Regions from separate parts of the Homo sapiens genome. Here all the other regions are linked to region 3. The links are contacts of gene promoters, found by promoter capture Hi-C in human tissues and cell types (Jung and others, 2019). All regions are on one chromosome and are shown on one strand. Each heading gives the region's core, a stretch centred on a gene start or on the middle of the fragment in contact. The rest is flanking DNA. Distances are from core to core; before and after follow the strand shown. Region 1 holds the start of SNORA30 (small nucleolar RNA, H/ACA box 30). Region 2 has its middle 4.6 kb from the start of ZNF48. Region 3 holds the start of ZNF688 (zinc finger protein 688). Region 4 overlaps DCTPP1 (dCTP pyrophosphatase 1). Region 5 holds the start of ZNF771 (zinc finger protein 771). Region 6 overlaps SRCAP (Snf2 related CREBBP activator protein).

What was found. The method cuts DNA at HindIII sites, captures the fragments that hold promoters and counts their contacts. A contact is called where the count stands out against the background at its distance.
Region 1: a contact is called between a fragment that was not itself captured here and the fragment with the promoter of ZNF688 in region 3, in 1 of the 25 tissues and cell types used here (dorsolateral prefrontal cortex).
Region 2: a contact is called between a fragment that was not itself captured here and the fragment with the promoter of ZNF688 in region 3, in 1 of the 25 tissues and cell types used here (dorsolateral prefrontal cortex).
Region 4: a contact is called between a fragment that was not itself captured here and the fragment with the promoter of ZNF688 in region 3, in 3 of the 25 tissues and cell types used here (lymphoblastoid cells, mesenchymal stem cells and thymus).
Region 5: a contact is called between the fragment with the promoter of ZNF771 here and the fragment with the promoter of ZNF688 in region 3, in 1 of the 25 tissues and cell types used here (mesenchymal stem cells).
Region 6: a contact is called between a fragment that was not itself captured here and the fragment with the promoter of ZNF688 in region 3, in 1 of the 25 tissues and cell types used here (hippocampus).

The regions. Positions count from the first base shown.
Region 1 is chr16:30,709,814-30,712,513 of GRCh38, reverse strand. It overlaps SRCAP (Snf2 related CREBBP activator protein), which reads right to left. Exons shown (of 34, transcript NM_006662.3): 8 at 2,386-2,663; 9 at 1,667-1,760; 10 at 1,426-1,515; 11 at 770-943; 12 at 357-679; 13 at 75-252. It overlaps SNORA30 (small nucleolar RNA, H/ACA box 30), which reads right to left and starts at 1,977; the gene lies at 1,849-1,977. The HindIII fragment of the contact is 4,122 bases long and covers 1-2,700 here.
Region 2 is chr16:30,389,503-30,392,202 of GRCh38, reverse strand. It overlaps a transcript of ZNF48 not described here. Among named protein-coding and RNA genes, the nearest start is that of ZNF48, 4.6 kb to the left of the region's middle. The HindIII fragment of the contact is 2,143 bases long and covers 282-2,424 here.
Region 3 is chr16:30,570,397-30,573,096 of GRCh38, reverse strand. ZNF688 (zinc finger protein 688) reads left to right here and starts at 1,383. Exons shown (of 3, transcript NM_145271.4): 1 at 1,383-1,663; 2 at 1,974-2,087; 3 at 2,661-2,700. The coding sequence starts at 1,468. RefSeq lists a silencer at 1,376-1,615 and an enhancer at 2,478-2,700. The HindIII fragment of the contact is 17,900 bases long and covers 1-2,700 here.
Region 4 is chr16:30,422,963-30,425,662 of GRCh38, reverse strand. DCTPP1 (dCTP pyrophosphatase 1) reads left to right here. Exons shown (of 3, transcript NM_024096.2): 3 at 1,130-2,048. The coding sequence ends at 1,430. Among named protein-coding and RNA genes, the nearest start is that of SNORA80C, 4.6 kb to the right of the region's middle. The HindIII fragment of the contact is 5,048 bases long and covers 1-2,700 here.
Region 5 is chr16:30,406,333-30,409,032 of GRCh38, reverse strand. ZNF771 (zinc finger protein 771) reads right to left here and starts at 1,427. Exons shown (of 3, transcript NM_001142305.2): 1 at 1,369-1,427; 2 at 839-988. The coding sequence starts at 979. RefSeq lists silencers at 1,292-1,501, 1,524-1,703. The HindIII fragment of the contact is 10,608 bases long and covers 1-2,700 here.
Region 6 is chr16:30,730,123-30,732,822 of GRCh38, reverse strand. All of the region lies in intron 27 of SRCAP (Snf2 related CREBBP activator protein), which reads right to left. Among named protein-coding and RNA genes, the nearest start is that of TMEM265, 9.2 kb to the left of the region's middle. RefSeq lists an enhancer at 973-1,132. The HindIII fragment of the contact is 8,180 bases long and covers 1-2,700 here.

The DNA.
Region 1 (2,700 bases), core at 75-2,574, 140 kb before region 3:
GCTGGAGTCATCACTGAACAAGCTCCCAGGGAGCTAGACTAGGGGGAACAAAAGAAGGGGCCTTGCCTACTTACCTTTCTCACAAGCCAAGTGGGCAAGCAGAGAGATGGTCTGGATGGTCTTCCCAAGCCCCATCTCATCAGCAAGAATGCCATTAAGCTTCTTCTCATACATGGTAACCAGCCAGTCTAGCCCAATGTGCTGGTACTCCCGGAGCTGGCCCCGCAGAAGCAGGGGAATGGGCGTCTTTACCTGTCAGAGAGGAAATATAGGTAACACAATGGAAATGAGGCATTTGTTGTGGGGACATGAGAAAGTCAAGACATGAGAAAGGAGAGGCCAGAACCTGGGGATACCTGGGTCGTGGCCAGCGTGTAACCCTTGGGCTGGAGACTTTCAGCTGCTGCAGCAATGTCAGTAATTTCTTTCTTTGGACCTAGAGTAGTGGGCCCTGGAGTAGGAGGCCCACTGCCTGCATCTGCCTCACTCTGCTCTTCATCCCTGGCAAGCAAGTACTCCACCCCAAAATCATCATCTTCCTCCTCTTCATCTGCTTGGCTCTGTGATTGGGCATCCTCAGACTCTTCAGACTCAGATTCCTCTGATGCTGAACTTCCACTTGTTTCTTCCTCCTCTGAATGTTCATCTTCCTCATCCTCACTCCGGTCCTCCACAGAGTCTAAAGGGTAAGACCAAGGCTTACTGCTCATCATACCTGCTCTTCCAATGGCCACCCTCCCCAGCTCCTGCTTCATGACCACATATTCACCTGACTGACTGCTACTATCCTCCTGAGGAGGCTCTTCCGCTTCCACGGGCCCCTCTGGTTCACAGTCAGAGCTATTAGCATCAACCTCATCTTCATCCTCATCTTCACTGCTCCCAGAGCCTGGGGCATAGGCTCCTGCATACTGCTGCAATAGCTCCTCCATGGAAAGCTCACCTGGAAGAGAAACAAAAAGCTTTTGGTTGCTCTGAGGGGAGGGAGAAGGGGAGGTCTGAGTAGTACCAGTTAATTTTACCTAGGTCTCTGTAGATACTGCTAGGCCCAGGTCTGAGGGGAGGCAAAAGAGCTTACTTTCAGCATCAGCTAGCAAAGCCAAGCCCCACAACCTGGGGGAAGTACCATGGGAATTGGGAAGAACATTATCAACCTGGTGAGCCTCTCAAGGTCCAGGTCAAATGCTGTCAGTATCTTCCTACATTAGCTCTTCCCTCCATTTCACTCCCACATCACCATTTAAACTTCTATCATAAGCACTCATCACTTTCTACTTATCATTACTGGTTTACAAGTCTGTCTTAGTCATTAGACATGGAATTCCTCCAGGGTGGATACAAAGTGCCTTATTCATCTCTTTATCCTTGGTACTGCACACCGCAGACACCAAGTGGATGCTTAGTAAAATGTCTGGTAAATGTCACCTTCTCGAGCCAACTCGCTCAGCTCCATGGCATGATCCACCTCCCCTTCCAACTGTTCCTCAGCTGCTATAGTATCCTCTTCATCCTCCGCTAGGAAAGAGACAGAAGCAAGATTAATAGGGATAGAGGCTAGAGGCACAGGACACAGTCCAAATGAAACAGATGAGAAAGCCTGAAAGGTTAGGTCCAGACAATTCATTCAAGGGGTAAGGGGCAATAGGACAAACCGAACAGCCCTGACCTTCCTCTTCGTTGGCAGTAAACTCTTCATCATCTTCATCTGGATGCCAAGGCTGTTTGTTGCGCTGTGTGACAGCAGAGGGTGGGGGCTTTATCTGTATGGCAAAAGATAAAAAAGGGAAGGGTCTAAGGTTACAGTAGCAGAAGAATGGCACAAACTTGAAAAAGGTGTCACAGGAGAATCACTGTCCCATTGAGTGACAGTTGCCACTGGTATAATCCCAGGGCAAGAATACAATCAAGGGTTTTCTCTCAGCACCAGCTACCAAATCCTGGCCCCACTGCCTGGGGAAGGAACTGTGAAAGTGCCAGGTAACAAATAAAGGCACCCAACACTTCCCCATGCACTTGAGACATATGGAGAAACAGAAAAGACTTAAGGGTACCATGCCAGCTTCCAACCTGTAAGCCAATAAGGGAACATTAGGGCATGTTCAGAGAAGTGGCAAGTAACGGTCAGAGGAAGTACTTTTTCAAGACCACACAGCAATTTAAAGAGGAAAGTGCAATACGCTCTTCCACTATAGCGCCAAAACCTGCCAATCACAAAATGCAACTTGCCCCAAACAGATTCTTCCCCAGTCATCCCCAAAGAGCCCAAATGTCCATTACTAGCAGAACTCCTAAAACTCATAACCAACCTCACAGCCCGGAACTCAGACCCTGAACCTCTCCCTCTGTTCCCCCTCTGAACCCTCCCTCTGCTCCTTCTGCCTATACCTCCAACACCTGAGGGGGCTCTTCTTCAGCACCTTCTTCAGGCCCATCTCGGGTGTCACTATCATGAGATGAGGGGGTTTGAGAGGGGCTGGAAGGCCCTTCCAACAGCTGAGGGGGAAGGGAACGGAGCAGCTCTTCCAGTGGCAATTCTCCCTCACGGCGAAGCAGCTCAATCTCACGCCTCTGGGCCTCTGCATCATTGCCTTCCTGTTGTTCTTCAACTTCAATCGTTTCCTCATCATCCTCTTCCTCATCCTCTTGGGGTTGAAAGTCCCCATCTATAGCAGGAGAACAAGGTCACAAAGTCCACGGGCC
Region 2 (2,700 bases), core at 104-2,603, 180 kb after region 3:
AAATACAAAAAAATTAGATGGGCGTGGTGGCAGGCGCCTGTAGTCCCAGATACTCAGGAGGCTGAAGCAGGAGAATGGCGTGAACCTGGGAGGCGGAGCTTCCAGTTAGCCGAGATCGCGCCACTGCGCTCCAGCCTGGGCGACAGAGCGATACGCCGCCTCAGGAAAAAATAAAATAAATAAAAAGATACAAAAAAGTTAGCTGGGAGTGGTGGTGCACACCTGTAGTCCCAGCTACTTGGGAGGCTGAGGTGAGAGGATCTCTTGGGCGCGGGAGGTGAAAGTTGCAGGGAGCTGAGATCATGCCACTGCACTCCAGCCTGGGTGACAGAGCAAGACCCTATCCCACCCCCACCCCCCCGCCAAAAAAAAAGGAGAAAGAAAAGGAAAGAGAAAGAAAACCTTAGGCTGGAATCAGTGGCTCACGCCTATAATCCCCACACTTTGGGAGGCTGAGGCAGGTGAATCACCTGAGGTCAGGAGTTCGAGACCAGTTTGGCCAACATGGTGAAACCCCATCTCTACTAAAAAATACAAAAATTAGCCAGATGTGGTGGTACGCGCCTGTAATCCCAGCTACTCGGGAGGCGGAGGCAGGAGAATCGCTTGAACTCGCGAGCCGGAGGTTGCAGTGAGCTGAGATCACACCACTGCATTCCGTTCTGGGCAACAGAACAAAACTCTGTTTAAAAAAAAAAAAAGAAAAGAAAAAGACTGCCAGGAGCAGTGGCTCACGCCTGTAATCCCAGCACTTTGGTAGGCTGAGGCGGGCGGATCATGAGGTCAGGGGTTGGAGACCAGCCTGACCAACATGGTGAAAACCTGTCTCTACTAAAAATAAAAAAATTAGCTGGAGGTGGTGGTGCTCACCTGTAATCCCAGCTACTCAGGAGGCTGAGGCAGGAGAATCATTTGAACCCGGGAGGCAGAGGTTTCAGTGAGCAGAGATCACTGCACTCCAGCCTGGGCGACAGAGTGAGACTCCGTCTCAAAAAATAAAAATAAAAGAAAACCTAATGTGTGCTAGAAGCTTGAGATCCAAAGATGACTATGGATTACGACCTATCTTCAGAGAGGAAAATAGAGAATAGTTCCGTTTTAATGTGCCGTGAGTTTACATATTAGGAAAGCAGTGAAAGATGAAGATAGAATGTAAGTTTATTCGGCCGGGCGCAGTGGCTCACGCCTCTAATCCCAGCACTTTGGGAGGTCAAGGTGGGCAGATCACGAGGTCAGGAGATCGAGACCATCCTGGCTAACACATTGAAACCCTGTCTCTGGCCAGGCGCGGTGGCTCACGCCTGTAATCCCAGCACTTTGGGAGGCTGAGGTGGGCAGATCACGAGGTCAGGAGATCGAGAGCATCCTGGCTAACACGGTGAAACCCCGTCTCTACTAAAAATATAAAAAAAAAATTAGCCAGGCGTGATGGCGGGCGCCTGTAGTCCCAGCTACTCAGGAGGCTGAGGCAGGATAATGGCATGAACCCAGGAGGCGGAGCTTGCAGTGAGCCGAGATCACACCACTGCACTCCAGCCTGGGCGACAGAGAAAACTCCATCTCAAAAAAAAAAAAAAAAAAAAAAAAAAAAAAAAAAAAAACCCGTCTCTACTAAAAATACAAAAAATTAGCTGGGCGTGGTGGCAGGTGCCTGTAGCCCCAGCTACTCGGGAGGCTGAGGCAGGAGAATCACGTGAACCCGGGAGGGGATGTTGCAGTGAGCCCAGATCGCACCACTGCACTCCATCCTGGGCGACAGAGCGAGACTCCGACTCAAAAAAAATAAATAAATAAAAATAAAAAAGAATGTAAGTTTATTCATTTGTTCCACAAACATTTCCTGGGTATCCATCAGGTACTGGGCATTTGTGCTGGGAAATAGAAGAGGGTATAAATGGTCAGCATGCCTGCCATATTCATTTGCAGAGCTGCCTAACTCTGACTTTGAGAGGACAAATCCTATAGTTATTAGATCTGAACTTGAATTAATGTCTAAAGATATAGAAGTCCCTCAAGGGATGCAAGGGGTGGGGAAGAGGTAACTGTGAAGACATGATGGCAAGATGAAGAAGAACTAATACGGGCTGGGCATAGTGGCTTACACCTGGAATCCTAGTGCTTTGGGAGGCCAAGGCAGGAGAATCATTTGAGGTCAGGAGTTTGGGACCAGCCTGGCCAACATAGTGACCCCATCTCTAAAAAGAAAAAAGAATTAGCCAGGGATGGTGTTGCAAAGCTATAGTCCCAGCTACTTGGGAGGCAGAAGTGAGCCCAGGTGTTCAAGACTGCAATAACCTATGATCGCACTACTACATTCCAGCCTGGGCAACAGAACAAGACCCTGTTTCTAAAAAAAAAAAAAAAAAAAAAAAAAAAAAAAAAAAAACTAATCCAAATGACTAAATAATTACTAAATGGGAAGAGAGCTGTCCACCACACACTGCCCTATATGAAACTCAAGGTACTGCCTTCCTTTGTCAAAGCAAACAAGCCCCAAATATCATATGAATGATTCGCCATAATTAGTTGGAATTAATAAGCATGGAAATGGACTATGGTGTCACTGTTAATTCATATAAACTCTACATTTAACACAATGACCAAGCAAGAGCCTTTTTTTTTTTTTTTTTGAGACAGAGTCTCACTCTGTTGCCCAGGCTGGAGTGCAGTGGCACGATCTCGGCTCACCACAACCTCTGC
Region 3 (2,700 bases), core at 134-2,633:
CCGTCTCTACTAAAAATACAAAATTAGACGGGCATGGTGGCTCATGCCTGTAATCCCAGCTACTTGGGAGGCTGAGGCAGGAGAATCGCTTGAACCTGGGAGGCGAAGGTTGCGGTGAGCCTAGATAGCGCCATTGCACTCCAGCCTGGGCAAGCCGAGATAGCGCCATTGCACTCCAGCCTGGGCAACAAGAGTAAAACTCCTTCTCAAAGAAAAAGTAGAAATGGCTGGGAACCGTGGCGCATGCCTGTAATCACAGCACTTTGGGAGGCCGAGGCAGGAGAATTGCTTGAGGCCAGGAGTTCCAGACCAGCCTGGGCAACATAGCAAGACCCTGTCTCTGTTTTAAAATTTAAAAATTAGCCAAGCATTGGGTGTGCGCCTGTGGTCCCAGCTACTCGGGAGGCTGAGGTGAGAAGATCGCTTCAGCCCGGGAGGTCGAGTCTGCAGTGAGCTAGGATCGCACTGCTGGGCCACAGAGCAAGACCCTGTCTCAAAACAAACAAAAAATAAATTCATGTATGTTAGCAACAATTACTATTTAATTTAAAACTTCCCCATTCCGATTCCATCCTCACCAAGCACGTTCCTTCGCCTGCAGCTTCGGTCTAGAGCCTGAGCGAGCCGAGCTGCGGATGCCAGGGGCTGGGTGGACTCCGCAGCTAAGCTACTGTAAAACACGCACCTGCTTCTACCGCGGGTGTACACATGGTTTGCCAGGGTGTGCGCGTCTTCCCAAGGGGTCTGGGGACCAAATTCCAGCTCCCGCCATCGGGAGGCACGGTAAGAGACCGTAGGGGACACAATCCCGAGCACCGCAGATGCCGAGGTCTCCGCTGCGCTCCAGTCTGTCAACAGAGGCTTCAGGACCGCGGGGTCCCTTCAAATGCCCCGCCAGTCCCAGGCCAATCACCGCGCAGCTTCTTCCGGGATCGTCGCCAATCATCGGCCGTTGCGTATTGCGGGTACAGAGGGGTAAGTGAAGCTTCGGGCCCTTACATCTTTCTTGAAGGCAAGAAGCCTCTCCTCTACTTCCCAGACACCCCGCCTCCCCCACTAGAAAAAGCAGCCGAAGCGGCTTTATTTAAGGGCAAGTGGGACGATGAGGCCAGAGAAGTCAGAAAGGCTCCATATTTGATATGGTCAAATAATGGCGCCCTTAAGAGCAGCCTGTGACAATTGAAGGGTGGTCGCCATATTTTCAGAAGGCACCTTCCGGGTCCCTTAACCCGGGTGTCTATGTCCAAGCGGCCATGAAGTGAATAAACACTGAGGAATTATATTTGTCCCTATCAGAATCCTCGAATCCCTAGCAGCCAGTCCCTGCTACTTCGGTTGCCTCGGCTGCGTTCGGACGCCACGGCTGGGCGGGGCCGCCCTTCCTGTGGACAACGACAGCTGAGGCCGGGAGCGGGGAGGCGGCGGCTCCAGGGACCTGGCGGCCGCCGATCGGGGCTGCGAGGCCCCATGGCGCCGCCCCCAGCCCCGCTCCTGGCGCCGAGGCCCGGGGAGACCCGGCCTGGTTGCAGGAAGCCCGGGACTGTGAGCTTCGCGGACGTGGCCGTGTACTTCTCCCCGGAGGAGTGGGGCTGTCTGCGGCCCGCGCAGAGGGCTCTGTACCGGGACGTGATGCAGGAGACCTACGGCCACCTGGGCGCGCTCGGTGAGAGCCCCGGGTCCGAGCCCCCTCCTCCTTCACCGGGTTCACAGGGGAGATGATGTAGAAGGGCCGAGAGGACTGTGAGCCCTAATCCCGCACTCTTGCACCAACACCAGCAGCCACCTCCCGTTCCCAGGGCTTCAGGTACCCCCTCGGGAGTGTTTTCACCCGCATCCATTTCATTCAGGCAGCAGCACTGCAGCCCCTTCCAGGTTGAGTATAAGCTCCGAGGGGGTGCCCTCAGCCTGGAGGGGAATGCCATCTTCCCACGATGGCCTCTCAGGCCCGCGCTGTGATCCCTGTTCTCTCCCAGGATTCCCAGGCCCCAAACCAGCCCTCATCTCTTGGATGGAACAGGAGAGTGAGGCTTGGAGCCCCGCCGCCCAGGATCCTGAGAAGGGGGAAAGACTGGGAGGAGCTCGGAGAGGTGAGGGATAGTCCCGGGTCCCCCCACTTGGTTTTCCAGGGCTTCCTGTCTAGCAGAGTTTCTTTTCAGGCCCCCACTTCCAGCATCCCTAAAGAAATTCAACTGTGTTGGGTACTAGAGGAGTAAAGAAGGCAGACCTGGTACAAAGTTTTCAGAACATGGGACAGCGGTCCTGTGAGGACTGGGAGCCCAGTCCAACCAGGCACTCCAGCCTGGGTGACAGAGTGAGACTCCGTCTCAAAAATAAATAAATAAATAAATAAATAAATAAATAAATAAATAAATAATAGCCCCTGCTTCCTGAGCACTTCCTAAGTGCTTAACATGCATCTACTCAGCTAAACCAGTAACGCTGTGAAGTCAAAAGCCATTATTATTCCCATTTGATGCATAAGGAACCAAGGCTCAGATAAGGCACTTTTAGGAGATCTGAATCCTGTTTACCTTGTTCTAAAGCCTGTGTGTTAATCACTGGACAGAACTTCCCTCACTGCCTTAAGTGAAAAGCATTCTATAACCTGAGACAGTCTGTGCAAAAGTGTTTGTAAGTGTAACTTAATTCCGGTTTCCCAGGAGATGTCCCAAACAGGAAGGAAGAGGAACCGGAGGAAGT
Region 4 (2,700 bases), core at 40-2,539, 150 kb after region 3:
TAATTCGTATTTTCTGTAGAGATGGGGTTTCACCTTGTTGGCCAGGCTGGTCTCGGACTCCTGACCTCAGGTGATCTACCCACTTCACCCTCCCAAAGTGCTGGGATTACAGGCATGAGCCATGGCACCCAGCCAATTTTTTTTGTTTCATTTTGTTTTGTTTTGTTGTTTTTTTGAGACGGAGTCTTGCTCTGTTTCCCAGGCTGGAATGCTGTGGTGCGATCTCGGCTCACTGCAACCTCTGCCTCCTGGGTTCAAGAATTTCTCTGCCTCAGCCTCCTGAGTACCTGGGATTATAGGTGCCCACCACCATGCCCAGCTAATTTTTTTGTATATTTAGTAGAGACGGGGTTTCACCATCTTGGCCAGGCTGGTCTTGAACTCCTGACCTCATGATCCACCCGCTTCAGCCTCCCCAAGTGCTGGGATTATAGGCGTGAGCCACTGCGCCAAGCCTGATTTGTGCTTTTAAAAGATGGTGTGGGCCGGGTGCGGTGGCTCATGCCTGTAATCCCAGCACTTTGAGAGGCCGAGGAGGGCGGCTCACCTGAGGTCAGGAGTTCGAGACCAGCCTGGCCAATATGGCAAAACCCTGTCTCTACTAGAAAAACAAAATTAGCCGGGCATGGCGGCACATGCCTGTAATCCCAGCAACTCGGAAGACGGAGGCAGGAGAATCGCTTGAACCCGGGAGGCGGAGGTTGCAGTATCGCCCCATTGCACTCCACTCCAGCCTGGGCGACAGAGCGAGACTCCGTCTCAAAAAATAGAAAAGATGGTCTGGGCAGGAGTAGAAGATGAGCTAGCCAGGAGATGAGTGGGGAGGCTTCTGCAGTGGTCCAGGTCCGAGGTTTGGTCTGTGGTGGTGACGGCTAGGGCTGGAGAGAATTAGAATTGGGCCTCAAAGCTTTGTCTCAACAGATGAAACATTCTTTTGGCCACTCCTTGGCCCAGGGAGAGACACAGACATCTTGGTATCATCTGTCGGGGTCTCTTCCCCACCTGACTCTTCCCAGGGCCCAGATTGGTTAGGTCGTCCTTGGAGGTGGGTGTTATTACTGCAAGGACTGGCAGAGCCCATTGCCCCAGGTTACATCTGAGTGTGTGTCTGTCTGTGTTCTGCCCCTAGTCAGTGGAAAACCGATGGGGAACCTGGCCCCCAAGGCTGGTCCCCCAGGGAACGGGCAGCCCTTCAAGAGGAGCTTAGTGACGTCCTCATCTACCTGGTGGCATTAGCAGCCCGCTGCCGTGTGGATCTGCCGCTAGCAGTGCTCTCCAAAATGGACATCAACCGGCGACGCTACCCAGCCCATCTGGCCCGCAGCTCTTCCCGCAAGTATACAGAATTGCCCCATGGGGCCATCTCTGAAGACCAGGCTGTGGGGCCTGCGGACATTCCCTGTGACTCCACAGGCCAGACCTCAACCTAGAAAGATGGCCACAGGACTTGCAACTCAGGGTGGTGTCTGAAGAGCAGAGAGTGGCCTGGCCCTGGAGCCTTTTTCTAGTCTTTTCAGAATAGATCATGGGCCTGAGGCCTCCACTTCTTGAGGTCTGAGGCCCAGCAGCCTCTAGAAGGTAGCCTCCTGGTGTTTGTTCTCCCAGTAAAATGGTTTTGGGCGATAACTTCTAGATTATTCCTGGATGGCCAGGGAGGCTCTCTGTCTCAGCAGGTGATGACGGGGGTACCAGGGGTGCCTCTGAGACCCATTCTCGTGTTTCCCTGTTGTACCTTTTGCCTGCAGGGCAGAGAGATCTGGTTTCTAGCAAATTCCCAGTAGGATGTCATGTAAGTTCCTTCCCCCTCTTAGAGATTGAAGGCTGTAAGAGTCCAGATGGTGGAGCCAGGCTGTCTGGGTTCAAATGCCATCTTTGACACTTGCAAGCTAAATGACATTACTCAAATTAATCGTTCTGCACTTCAGCTTCCTTGTCTATCAAATAAAAAGAATAGTACCTGCCCAATAGGGTCGTGAGGTTTCAATGAGTTATGTGAATGCTCAGGGCGGGGCCTGGCACATAGTAAAGTACACTTGGTAAGTTTTGCAGTTACTGTTATTACCTGTTTTCCTTTTTTTTTTTTTTTTGAGACAGAGTCCTGCTCTTGTAGGCCTGGCTGGAGTGCGGCGGTATGATCTCGGCTCTCTGCAACCTCTGCCTCCTGAGTTCAAGCGATTCTCATGCCTTAGCCTCCCAGTAGCGGGGATTACAGGTGCCCACCATCACGCCCAGCTTTTTTTTTTATTGTTTTGAGACGGAGTCTCACTCTTTCGCCCAGGCTGGAGTGCAGTGGTGTGATCTCGGCTCACTGCAAGCTCCACCTCCCGGGTTCACACCATTCTCCTGCCTCAGCCTCCCGAGTAGCTGGGACTACAGGTGCCCGCCACCACGCCCGGTTACTTTTTTGTATTTTTAGTAGAGATGGGGTTTCACCATGTTGGCCAGGCCGGTCTTGAACTTCTGACCTTAGGTGATCTGCCCACTTTGGCTTCCCAAAGTGCTGGGATTACAGGCCTGAGCCACCGTGCCCAGTCGTTTGCCTTTTTATTTATTTATATATATATTTTGAGACTGAGTCTCGCTCTGTCACCCAGGCTGGAGTGCAGTGGCGTGATCTCAGCTCACTGCAACCTCCGCCTCCCAGGTTCCAGCGATTCTCCTGCCTCAGCCTCCCAAGTAGCTGGGATTAAAGGTGCATGC
Region 5 (2,700 bases), core at 178-2,677, 160 kb after region 3:
ACTGCACTCCAGCCTGGGCAACAGAGCGAAACTCTGTCTCAAAACAAAACAAAAAAAAATTAGCCAGGTGTAGTGGTGCATGCCTGTAGTCCCAGCTACTTGGGAGGCTGAGGTGGGAGGATCACCTGAGCCCAGGGAAGTCAAGGCTGCAGTGAGCTGTACTGCACTACAGCTTGGGTGACTGAATGAGACCCTGTCTCAAACAATAACAACAGTAATAATAAAAGAGCCATTTCCTCTGACTGGGTCCATCACCCCACTTCTGACCCCAGACTCCTACTAGTCTCACATAAGCCATCCTTTTACTTTGAGACCTGTGGCCAGTTACCAAACTGCCCTGGGCCTCAGTCTCCTCATCTGTAAAATGGAATAAATGCTACCGACATCATAGAATCGAGGTGCTTAGAACAGTGCCTGGCACATAGAAAATGCTAGGCAAGGGTTAGCTATTGTTACTGTTGCTGTTGAACTAACCTGACCTTTCCCCAACCTCTAAATCTGAGTTAAGTTCCCACTTCTAGGCTTCATCATCCCCCTGTACCTGCAGCCATCACACGGGATTCTAACTGTGTGGTTACCCTTCAGTCTAACATCAAGCTCCATGGGGGATCCAAGGACGGAGTTTAATCTCCTGCACCCAGCAGGAAGCCTGGGACAGTAGGCGTGACTTTTGTATGATGGAAGCCCAGGCAGTAGGGCAGAAGGATGGGCCAATCCTGAGGTTTTAGATCCGAGATTCTGGGAAAAGTAGGGGCAAGATCCCTGGCTTCTATCTGAGGGAGGCTGGGCCTGGACCAGGTTTGGGGACAGTGTGCCCCAGGGTGTGTGTGACACATACCTCCTTGTTGTCCATGGGGATCTTGAGTTTCACCACCTCATACTTCTCCTCACCCTCATCCTCCTCACCCTTCACCAGCAGCACCATCTCCTCCTGCATCTCTTCCTCCTCCTCTTCCTCTGCCTGCTGTTCGCCAGGCATCTTGGTGTCCTGAGGCGGGGAGCTGGATCAGAAGCTCAGGACCCGCCCCCCCCCACCCCCCCCCCCGCCCACCGTGGCCCTGGCCCAGCAAGGCAGTGCAGCCGTGGCTTCTCCCGCCCTGCCCTGGTCTCCGAATCTGGTCCTCTCCCGTCCACCCCAGCCCGGCCCCACGCTCTGGCACAGCCCCGGGACCAGCTCCGAGGGCTCGCGTTCACCCCACTCATCCCAGCATTCAAGGCCTTGAACAGTTCGAATCTCCAGCCCCCGCAAGTCGCCACCATCCTTGCGCTGAGTCACTCCCCAGGGCCCGGGTCGGCGACCTGGAGCTCTGGGGCACGGGCTGGAGGCGGGATCGGGGCGGAAACCCCGGGGAGGGGGTGCGCACTCACCAGCCGAAGGTTCGGCACTCGCGGTGCCCCAGGCCTGGGCGCCGGGCGGCTGGGCACTCAGCGAGGCCGCGGCTCCGGGGGCGGGGAGGGGGCGGGACCGCAGGGACGGCCGGTCATTGGTCCGAACATATAGCCCCACCCCCTGGGGCGGAGCCCGAAGGACCCAGGCGTCCGGCCCAAACGGCTCGGAGAGGGCGGCGAGCTCAGACTTGGCGTCCTCCGCAGTCCCCCGACTCCCAAGCACCTGGAGCCGCCCCAGCCCGGCGTTCAAGGTCCTTGCCGCCGAGTTCCAACCTAACCTCGCGGCCCGTCTCCTGGGGCCGGCTTGGAGGTCTCCGCTGCGCCCAGTGCCTCTGCTCCGCCCGAAATAGGCCACGTGCGCTCCCGCCCCGGCCTGGGCCTCTCCCTGGCGCCCCGCCTGGAGGGCGGACCCTGTTGCCTCCTCACTTCTTCCATTCCCTCTTTATCTCCTCTGCCGTCTTTTCTCCATCTTTCTCGGCTTCGCCTATTCCGCTGGCCTCTGGGATATCCTTGAATACATCCTAACCAATTCAACATCCACCCAAGCTACCGCTGTCGCGTCATGCGTGGGGTGCTTACCATGCGCCAGCGCTGTTCAGCGTCTTACATACCTGGTCTCATTTGATCCGCATAACGATGGGTCCTGATCCATTTTACAGATGAGCTCACTGAAGTTCAGGGAGGTAAACTGATTTGCCTAAGTTACACGATAAGGATGTCATAGCATCCCTGACAATCAGTAGCCTAGGTGAACAACAGCCCAAAGCTAAATCCAGTCCACAGGGGTACCTTGTTTGGCCCTTAGGGTATTTTTACTTTTAAAAAATCTTTTCGGACGGGCACGGCGGCTCACGCCTGTAATCCCAGCACTTTAGGAGGCCGAGGCGGGCGGATCACGAGGTCAGGAGATAGAGACCATCCTGGCTAACACGGTGAAACCCCGACTCTACTAAACAAAATACAAAAAATTAGCTGGGCGTGGTGGCGGGCACCTGTAGTGCCAGCTACTCGGGAGGCTGAGACAGGAGAATGGCGTGAACCCGGGAGGCGAGCTTGCAGTTAGCCGAGATCGCGCCACTGCGCTCCAGCCTGGGCGACAGAGCGAGACTCCGTCTCAAAAAAAAAAAAAAAAAAAAAAAAAAAAAATCGTTTCAAAGCCGGGCGCGGTGGCTCATGCCTGTAATCCCAGCACTTTGGGAGGCGGAGGCCGGTGGATCACTTGAGGTCAGGATTTCGAGACCAGCCTAACCAACATGGTGAAACCCCGTCTCTACTAAAAATACAAAAATTAGCCAAGCTTGGTGGTGCATG
Region 6 (2,700 bases), core at 50-2,549, 160 kb before region 3:
TACAAGTTCTTCCTTTAAGGGCTTCACCTCTTCGGTCTGCTCCAGCCTAGAATCTAACTTCTTGGAGTCTAAAAGAGTAGGGGAATACATAACATCGAGGGAAAAACAGAATCCCCAATGCTTTATGAGCAAGAGATCCTTAAGTATTACAATAGTCATACCACCTGAAATCCAGAACAGATTCACAGGATAGATATCAACAAATCCATGGTCACAGCTTACAGACAGGGATTTAAGGTCACAGATCAGAACAGTAAAGGCTCTTAGAAAGTTTATCTAGTTCAACCTTCCATCAAACACAGAAATAACTTCAACATTTCTGGTAACACAGTTTGAACTTTTATTTTTTTCCTTTTCCTTTTTTTTTTTTTGAGACAGAGTTTTGCTCTTGTTGCCCAGGCTGGAGTGCAATGGTGGAATCTCAGCTCACGGCAACCTCCACCTCCTGGATTCAAGCAATTTTCCTGCCTCAGCTTCCCGAGTGGCTGGGATTACAGGCATGTGCCACCACGTCCGGATAATTTTGTATTTTTAGTAGAGACAGGGTTTCTCCATGTTGGTCAGGCTGGTCTCCAAATCCAGACCTCAGGTGATCCACCTGCCTCAGCCTCCCAAAGTGCTGGGATTACAGGCGTGAGCCACCGTGCCCAGCCTGAACACTTTATTATTTCATTTTTTGAGACAAGGTCTGGCTCTATTACCCAGGCTGGAGTGCAGTGGTGCGATCTCAGCTCACTGCAACCTCTGCCTCCCGGGCTCAAGCCATCCTCCCACCTCAGCCTCCCAAGTAGTTTGGACTACAGGCGTATGTCACCACGCCTGGCTAATTTTTGTATTTTTTGTAGAGACAGGGTTTCGCCATGTTGCCCAGGCTGGTCTCCAACTCATGAACTCAAGTGATCCACTCACCTCAGCCTCTCAAAGTGCTGGGATTACAGACATGAGCCACCAGGCCCAGCCTTATTTTATTTTTGAGACAAGGTCTCACCCTGTCACCCAGGCTAGAGTGCAGTGGCATGATCACAGCTGACTGCACCTCAACCTCCCAGGCTCCTGCAATCCAGCCATCTGAGTAGCTGGGACTATAGGTGTGCACCACTATATCCACTAATTTTTCAGTTTTTGAGGAGACAGGGTTTCGCCATGTTGCCTGGGCTGGTCTTTACTTGCCTCAAGTGAGCTGCCCACCTCAGCCTACCCAAGTGCTGGGATTACAAGTATGAGTCACCACACCCGGCCTTGAACACTTTTAACCAAGACTTTCAGTTCATCTACTCTGAATAGTTTCAAATGTAACAAAAACACTTTTTTTTACTAAAACATTTATTGAACACATATTAATAAAAATTTTGATTTTCTTATATTCTAGGAAATTTAAAAAATCTCGAAACATGTTACTATACAAATGTCTGTGCAGGGCTGTGGAACTAGTCACTTACCCAATAGCCATTCTTGGGTAAAAGAACCTGATTAACCCTGGACAGCTGGCAGAGGTTCTTTGCTCCCAGGTGAAGAAGGCCCCAACCCAAACCCAGAAAATAAATCAAGTTGATCTAAATAAGCCAGAGGTCTTTTTTGCTATTCCCCTTTGTCAGTGATTGCTCTAAGTATGGGCATATAGCTCAGTTTGAGCCAATGAGTTATGAAGCAAAGTCAGCTTGGAGGTCTTTTGTTCCCAGAAAACCTTCTCAGAGTGTTTTGTCTCAACCCCTTGTTTCTTGTTTAGAGGATTGGTGTATACCCTGGAGTTATGGCAGCCATCCTAACATCATGAAGAAACAAAAGCATGAGAATAAAAAGATAAAAAGCTAAAGATGGTACAGCAGGGTAGAAAGATAAAGTCCTGGTCCCTTAAGGCTGGGTGCAATGGCTCACGTGTGTAATCCCAGCACTTTGGAAGGCCGAGGCAAGGGGATCACGAGGTCAGGAGTTCGAGACCAGCCTGGCCAACATGGTGAAACCCTGTCTCTACTAAAAATACAAAAAAATCACCCAGGCGTTGTGGTGGGCACCTGTAATCCCAGCTACTCGGGAGGCTGAGGCAGGAGAATACCTTGAAACACAGCGAAACTCCATCTCAAAAAAAAAAAAAAGGCTGGGCGCAGTGGTTCACACCTGTAATCCCAGCACTTTGGGAGGCCAAGGTGGGCAGATCACGAGGTCAGGAGATCGAGACCAGCCTGACCAACATGGTGAAACCCCGTGTCTACTAAAAATACAAAAATTAGCCGGGTGTGGTGGTGTGCACCTGTAATCCCAGCTACTCAGGAGGCTGAAGCAGGAGAATCGCTTGAACCCAGGAGGCGGAAGTTGCAGTGAGCCGAGATCGAGCCACTGCACTCCAGCCTGGGCGACAGAGTGAGACTCTATCTGAAAAAAAAAGAAAGAAAGAAGGAAGAAAAGGTCCTGGTCCCTGAAAATATCGTTAAGCTACTGAAACAGCTACACACCACTATTCTCAGATTGGCTCATTAAGAAAACAATGACTGTTAGTTGGTTTTCTGTTACCGCCAAATAATTCTAGTCAACACAAAAAGGTCCTTGTCTTTTCCAAGACCAAAATTTACTGTTTACTTACTGTGCAGTCTTGTACCACCAGACATCTTTTCCCATACAGCTAAATAAAAACTCTATGCTGCACTGTCTTACTTGCTATTGTATCCCAAATGATTAGCAAAATGTAACATGTTCACAAAATGA